Linked DNA regions of Homo sapiens: region 2 is linked to region 1. The links are contacts of gene promoters, found by promoter capture Hi-C in blood cells and fetal thymus (Javierre and others, 2016). All regions are on one chromosome and are shown on one strand. Each heading gives the region's core, a stretch centred on a gene start or on the middle of the fragment in contact. The rest is flanking DNA. Distances are from core to core; before and after follow the strand shown.

Evidence for each region. The method cuts DNA at HindIII sites, captures the fragments that hold promoters and counts their contacts. A CHiCAGO score of 5 or more calls a contact.
Region 2: a fragment that was not itself captured here is called in contact with the fragment with the promoter of CHST1 in region 1 in 4 of 17 cell types (megakaryocytes, endothelial precursors, M2 macrophages and 1 more); the score reaches 5.6 in megakaryocytes.

What each region holds. Positions count from the first base shown.
Region 1 is chr11:45,663,873-45,667,405 of GRCh38, reverse strand. CHST1 (carbohydrate sulfotransferase 1) reads left to right here and starts at 1,784. Exons shown (of 4, transcript NM_003654.6): 1 at 1,784-2,228. The HindIII fragment of the contact is 4,208 bases long and covers 1-3,533 here.
Region 2 is chr11:45,347,912-45,351,818 of GRCh38, reverse strand. No RefSeq gene overlaps it. Among named protein-coding and RNA genes, the nearest start is that of LINC02696, 5.5 kb to the left of the region's middle. The HindIII fragment of the contact is 5,570 bases long and covers 1-3,907 here.

The DNA.
Region 1 (3,533 bases), core at 535-3,034:
GTAGCCTTGGAGTCAGGACTGAGGACTGACTCTGCCATCCCAGGTGCTGTGGCTACAGGAATGCGCACTGGAAGGTGCTGTTAGCCCCTCCAGCTTGATGGGGGTGGAGATGGGGGAGAGGAGTTTATAGTTATGAGTTTGCAATTGTGACCAAGATAAATGACCATTTGGTCTAGTGGGACCCTTGGGGCAAGGGCCTTCATACCATCTGCTCTGGGTGGAGAGAGGGAGACCTTCTTGATGACCCGAGAGCCCAGTCCTCCAGGGAAGTGCAGCTGTCATGTTCTCCTCTTGGCGAGTGAGTGAATGTTTGTTCCTGGCTACCCTGAACGCAACAATGTGCAATTATTAAGTACTCACCCCCTTGCCAGACACTGCTGAATGCTCTACACACATTACCATCCAGTGTTCACAACACCCCTACAGGGTGAGGATCAGTACCTCTGTCTTCTGGATGAGGAAACTGAGCCGCAGAGAGGCTGATCACTCACACAAAGTCACCCAGCAAACACACAGCAGGTTCCTCTGACCCAGGAAACTGCTGTGCTAACCATTCTGCTGTGCTTCACTGTGTGGGATGGAGGCAGCAGCTGCTTGCCCATACATCGGGGACGAGGCTTTCCCAGAATGCCTGGAGTTTTCAAGCCATCCACTGCTCTCTGCGCCCCAGTCCAGGAGTGATGGAGAGCTATAGTCGGGAATCAGAGATTCCAGGTGGAGATGAAGGCTGACTGTTCCTCTGCTTCAGAAATAACCATTTGGTCAGAACTGAGGAGCATCAGAGGTTCAGCCAGACAAAGCACCTTCCTAGTCTCCAGATGAGGAAACAGGCCACTGGGGTGGGCAGCCTCAGTCATGTCAGATGTGGTGGCAGAGCTGGGACTCCTGGCCGTCCTCTCCAGCCCAGGGGCCACTGATCACATGATATTGCTCTGCTCATGCACCCTGCTTCTCCTCCACTCCACTCTGAGAGGTTCATCAACCAGTCCCTGGTGCCCATGAAGGCCAGGCCTGTGGAAGATGCTCAGTCAATATTTGTGCAGAGGATACAGGCCCAAGGTGCTCGGCTGGCCAGCTCTGTCCCCATCCCTCATCCATAAAAGCAGTGGTGGCTCCAGATTGCCACCTAGAAAGCCAGGGGCAGTCTGGTAGGAAGAAGGTGGGCAGTGTGGAGGAGCGGCCTAGAAGACGGTCAGCCAGCAAACCCACTCTAAGGTCCCATTAAGACACCCCCTGACCCTGCCCAAGAGGGACAACTGCAGCGGGGACAAATGATTCATCCCCACACTTGAGAAGCAGAGGGGCGGGGAAGGAGGAAAGGCTAGGGGTGTGTGTCAGGGTATTGCACACAGAGATGGTTGGCTTCAGTTCTGGGTTCTGAAGTCCCTCTGTGCCGCTGGCTGGGCAAGAGGTAAAGGACAGCTGGGCCAGGGGCCAGGCTGGGACTCCAGCAGGACTTCCGCGGCGAGGGGCGCTGGGGGGGCGAAAGGCTTTGGCGGCCCGGCCAGCAGCGCCCTCGGGGGTAAGGGGAAGGGAGGCTACGCGGAGAGGTGCCAGAGACAGCCGGTGCCCTTGCCCGCCGGCCGCCCGAAGTCCGGGTGGTGGGCGTGGCTGCCCCCGGCGGGTGGGTGGGGGCGGGCTCCGGAGCCTGGCTGCGGAGTGGGTGTCCAGGGCGCTCGCGGCTGGGGCGGCGCGGGGGGCGGGAAGGCGCGCGCCGAAGGGGTGGGGAGGAGAAGGGGCGGGCGGCTCGGGGGTGGAGCCGGGACCGCAGCGCCTGCCGCTCGCTCGGAGCTGTAGCCGCCGCTGCCGCCGCTGCTCTTGGCTCGGGGACGCGGGCGGGCGCTCCGAGAGGCTCTGGTGCCTGCGGCTGCTGCTCTCCTCCGGCGCCCGGGGCTGCGGCGCTCCGGGTCCCGGCCCCTGTCCCGGCATCTCTCGGGTCCCTGAGCCCCGGCCCCGGGTCCCGCGTCCGGCCGGAGAGAACGCACTCAGCTGCTCGAGCCGCCCCGGGCTCGCGCCCCCGGGCCATGAAGAGGGGCCCGTGAGGCGCGCGCGGAGTCGGAGGAAGAGGAGGGAGGAGGGAGGCCGAGGAGGAGGGCGCGGGAGGCGGAGGATGCCGCCGCGGCTGCTGCCGCCGCCGCCACCCGCGGGTCCCCGGCGACCCTGACTCCAGACCCGAGGATGGAGCCGGCGCTGGGCGCTGCAGCTGCTCCCGGCGCGTCCCCGACCAGGTATTGGCCGGGCCCCGCGGGCTCCGGGGCGGGCGGGAGCGGACACTCCGCCGCAGCAGCCGGGAGGGGCGCGGGCGCGGTGGGAGACGCCCCTCCGCTCGGGGACAGCAGCTACCGGCGGTGAGCGGAGGGGTGGCGGCGGCGAGGAACGGCGGCGTGTTGGGCGCAGGAAGGGGCTGCCGGGGCTGGTGGCCGGTGAGCGCCGCGATCACCTCAGCCCTCCCTGCCCCCATTCGAGGAGGGCAGCAAACTTGAGACGCGCGGTGGCCCCCGAGGCGCTTGGCTCCCCTCCGCTGCGGAGCGCACTCAGGGGCTGCTCCGGGCTCACCGTCCCACGACCCGCCTGGCTCGGGTCTGCGGAGGCGCCTTGAGACCCTGAGGTCCCCGCGCCCGCACCAACTTTCCAAACCCAGCTGCACCCGGAGGCGGGGGCGCCGCTCCCTGCTTCCTGCTCCCAGCCCTGGCCCGGCCTCCGCACCCAGACCGCTGCGATGAGCTGGGCCCCTGTGGGGCCGGAGCCGCCGGATGGTGCAGAGCCCACCACGGAAAGCCGGAACAACCCTCCCGCTCTTCTCTGGGTAGGACCCGGGGATCAGCCCCTCCCAGGCTCCAGGGACCCAGTGCTGGCTTTCGCGGTAACAGCCCAGAGTAACCCTAGCTGGGATGCTGGGCGTTAAAAGGCCAGGCTGCCTGAGGAAGGTAAGACCCGGGGGTCGTCCTGGAGTGGCACCTTGGCCTGATTTCAGGTGTGCCCCCTCCCCCACCCCGGGCCTGCCCTTTCACAGGACTGCCTTCCTCAGCTCTGGGGCCGGCTTCCTCTTGGTGGACTTAAAACTGCTCTTCGGCAGCGGACTCCCTAGGAAGGGCCACTCCTAGGGTCCAGGTGCCTGAAGACGGGCTTGGGCCGGCCATTGACAGGGAGCTGGAGGCTGGGGCAGGGGAGGTGGCTGTCCAGTCAAGGACAGAAATTCAGTCCAGCAACTTCTGGAGGGGTGGGAGGAGCTGGGGGCAGGCTTGGGCGCAGGAGTCAGGCACCCTGGCTGGGAGGAAGCTGCTTTGACCAGCACAGGGACGTCAGAGGCAAGCAGGTGGGAACGAGTGGGCCAGGTGTCTACCTCCAGAGGTTCCTCAGCCCCTTGCAGTGGGGCCTGCTGTCTCAGGCAGAGACCTTACCTGGGCAGGCAGTTCCCAGGCTCCTGTCCTCAGCAGTGGGGACACTTCCAGGCATCATGATGACCCTGTTTCTTTTTCAAAGTGCTTTCATCGTCATGACTCACACATCACATTCACCAGGGAGGTATCAGG
Region 2 (3,907 bases), core at 1-2,500, 320 kb after region 1:
AAACCTTGCTGATCATCTTGTCTCTTACTGCAAACTTGTTTTCCATTTTGAAGAGCAGTGGGATGTTAACGCTCTTTCATAGGGAAATGTCTTTTGTGAAAGTGGAACAAGAGGCCAGCTTTAGAAATGCATCAGGGCTTCTGCTTCCAGGAAAATGGAGTAAATGTACTTTCTCTTCTTCCTCCCACAAAGTGCAACTAAAACCCCTGGGCATTATACAAAAAACAAACATAAGAAGACTTAGAAAGGTGGAATGACTAGGAACCTTGTGATCTAAGGAGCACCATGCTGGCAAATTTTCTGGGTTTTCCTTTGCCTCATATATTCCAAACCTAGAGCTGAGGAAGCCAGTGACCCAGTAATGCTAACGGCATCAGACAAAAAAAAAAAAAAAGTCCCAAGAAAAGCCACCTTTCTTAAGATAAAGGACTAAGAATGGGGCAACTTAGCAAGACAGAAGGCTTTTGGACAATAACTGCTTGACTCCAGCCAAAGACCACCAACAAAACAAACAAAAAAGTACTTCCCCTGTATCTGCTGATATCTATCTAAATGTTTGTAGAGGAAATATTTAAGACAATTATAAGTGGGAGAAGGTAAAGGGATATAGAGGATGGTAAAAATTTCTCCACTGCATTCAAATTGGTAAAATGATGACCCCAGAGAATGCGATATTATGTATATATTAAATGAAATACCTAGAGCAACCACTAAAAAGAATATACAGAAAGACACTCAAAAACACTAGATAAATAAAAATGAGATTCAACAAAAAAGTTAAAATAACTCACAGGAAGGCAAGAAAGAGAAAACAGAAATGAGAATAGAAAATACAAAATGGTAGACTTAAACCTTAACATATCAATAATTACATTAAATGTCAATGGTCTAAATACACCAATTAAAACACACAGATTGGCAGAGTAGAGGAAAATGATGACCTAGCTACATGCCACCTGTAAGAAATTCTCACTTCAAATTTAACAATATAGGCAGATTGAAAGTGAAAGGATGGAAAAAATATATCATGCAAACAATCAAAGTGGGAGTAGCTATATTAGCATCAGATAAGGTAAATTTCAGGGCAAAGAAAATTACCAGAGATAGAGAACAATGTGACAAAATGATAAAAGGGTCAATCCATCAAGAAGAAATATCAACCCTAAATGTGTACACACCAAATAACAGCTGCAAAATATGTGAAGCAAAAAATAGATACGTTAAAAGGAGAACTGGACAAATCCACACCCCTCTCTCAATAATTAATGGGACAGCTAGACAGAAAATCAGCAAGGATATAGAAAAATTCAGCAACACTATCAATCAAAATGATCTTATCAGCATTCATAGAATGCTCCACCTGACAACAGAAGGTATGTTCTTTTTAAGTGCCCAGGGAACATACTCCAAAAATCGACCACATTCTGGGCTATGAAACAGACTTTAACGCATTTGAAAGAGTTAAAATCATACCAAGTGTGTTCTCTGACCACTGTGGAATCAAATTAGAGAACGGCAACAGAAAGATGACAGTAAACTCACCCAAACAGGTGGAAACTAAGCAACACGTTTCTAAATATTCCATGGGTCAAAGTGGAAGTCTCAAGGGAAACAAAAGAATATGCTGTACTGGATGAAAATGAAAATAAGCATATCAAAATTTGTAGAAGAGAGCTAAGCAGTGCTGAGGGAAATTTATAGCACTAAATGCATAGCATACATTAGAAGAAAGGAAAACTCTCATCAACAATCTTAGCTCCCAACTACAGTACCTAGAAAAAGAAAAGCAAATTAAACCCATAACAAGCTGAAAGAAAGAAATAATAAAGAGCAAAGTCAAGAAATAGAAAGCAATAAAACTATTAAAGCAACTAAAAAAAAAGAGCTGGTTTTTTGAAAATATTTTCTAAAGGATAAAACTCTAGCAAGACAGACAAAAAAGAAGAATATTAGGTAACATTCTAATATCACCAATATTAGGAATGAAACAGAGGATATTACTACAGGTTCTCCAGAATAAGCAAGATAATAAAGGAATACAGTTGACCCTCTTCAGGAGGATGAAGGCACACACTCTCAAGTCAGGCTGCCAGATGAGCCATTACAACATGGCATGTTGTAATGAGGTAACATTTGGGAATGATGGATATGTTCATTATCTGGATTATGGTAATGGTTTCATGAGAGTATACATATGCCAAAACTTATTAAATTGTATGTTTTTAAGTGTTCAGCTTATTGTAGGTCACTTAAATAAAGGTTAAAAGAAAGCATTATCAAATCTTAATCTTTGCCATATGTATTTATTTCAGATTCTCCACTTACAAACACAGATCATTTTTTTATCCCAAACCTATTTTCCCCCATTTCCTATATATAAGCACTAGGAAATTGAATTTGGTGTTTTTGATCCCCACGCATAATTTTCTATATTAGTGCAGAAGTCTTTATAAACATTATATAACATAGTTTTGTATTACTTAATATTGTACATAAATGAAGTATCTATCATTCTGTAATTTGCTTTCTTTGTTTAACATATTTATGAATAAATTACATAACTTTAACAAAAACTTAAGGGAGGTATTATTACCATTTTACAGATGGAGAGAGAAACTGAGGTTCACCCTGATTAGGTGAACCATTTCTTGCCAAAGGTGATTATGAAGCCAGGATTGAGCCAGGTCTGACCTGGGTCAAAGCCAGAGCTTTAAACAGTGACCACAGGTACTTTGGGGGAGATTTTCCTCAAGGGCTCCCTTGTTTGTGCTTCCTGGGATTGTCATGAGCAGCACCCTTCCAGGCAATTTGCTCTTCTAGACTGTTCTAGACCACACTGGTTTGTCTGGCTACCTGGCATTCAGGTTGGGTCAGGCATTGCTTTGCCATATCCAGCTGTACTTTGCCGGGATCAAAGATAGTACCTTTGCCCTGCCTTGCTCCTTCTATTAATACTACTCCCTGGTCTAAATAAGGCCTGCCTTTTTTTGTCTAGATAGGGCTTCTTAACCTCTTTCATGTCAGGGATACCTCTGGCAGGGAAGCCTAGGGGCACCTTGGAATAAAACTTTTTAAATGCTGAAGACACATATGATTACAGCCTTATTGAAATACAAAATATATTTTAAAATGGTGATTGAATCATACATATGCTCCTTTTTTTTTTTTTTTGAGATGGAGTCTCCCTCTGTCACCCAAGCTGGAGTGCAGTGTTGCGATCTCAGCTCACTGCAACCTCTGCCTCCTGGGTTCAAGTGATTCTCCTGCTTCAGCCTCCAGAGTAGCTGTGATTACAGGTTCCTGCCACCATGCCTGGCTAATTTTTGTATTTTTAGTTGAGACAGGGTTTCACCATGTTGACTAGACTGGTCTCGAACTCCTGACCTCAAGTGATCTGCCTGCTTCAGCATCCCAAAATGCTGGGACTACAGGCGTGAGCCACCATACCTGGCCGATATATGCTTCTTTATTTATGCTTTTATGTTACAAGGTCTAATAGTGGATCTAATTGCCAATTTTGCTGCACAGATGAGCCTGAGCTTGATTTCAACATATCTGTAGCAACTGTAATACATGAAAATGTCGGTGATTTCTATTGGTGACAATGAGGACTGATAACATTACTATGGTTTGTTGCCTGCTTTCCAAACCAAAGTGCTACATTTCGGTTGGAAGTTAGCAAACATAGATATATTTTTCCTCATTTGAGTTCACAGACCCCTGAATTCCCTCCACAAACATGTTACGGGTCCGTGGACCCCTGGATAAAAGTCACTGGACTAGCACCTTCCCAGAGAACCAGGAATTAGAGGGGCTTGGAAGCAGCTGGTTTTTGGGGCAGACAGAAAGCTGGTCCCAGGGTTCCGTGTTTTATGTTAACGACAATCATCTCTCCGTTTTCCTGATT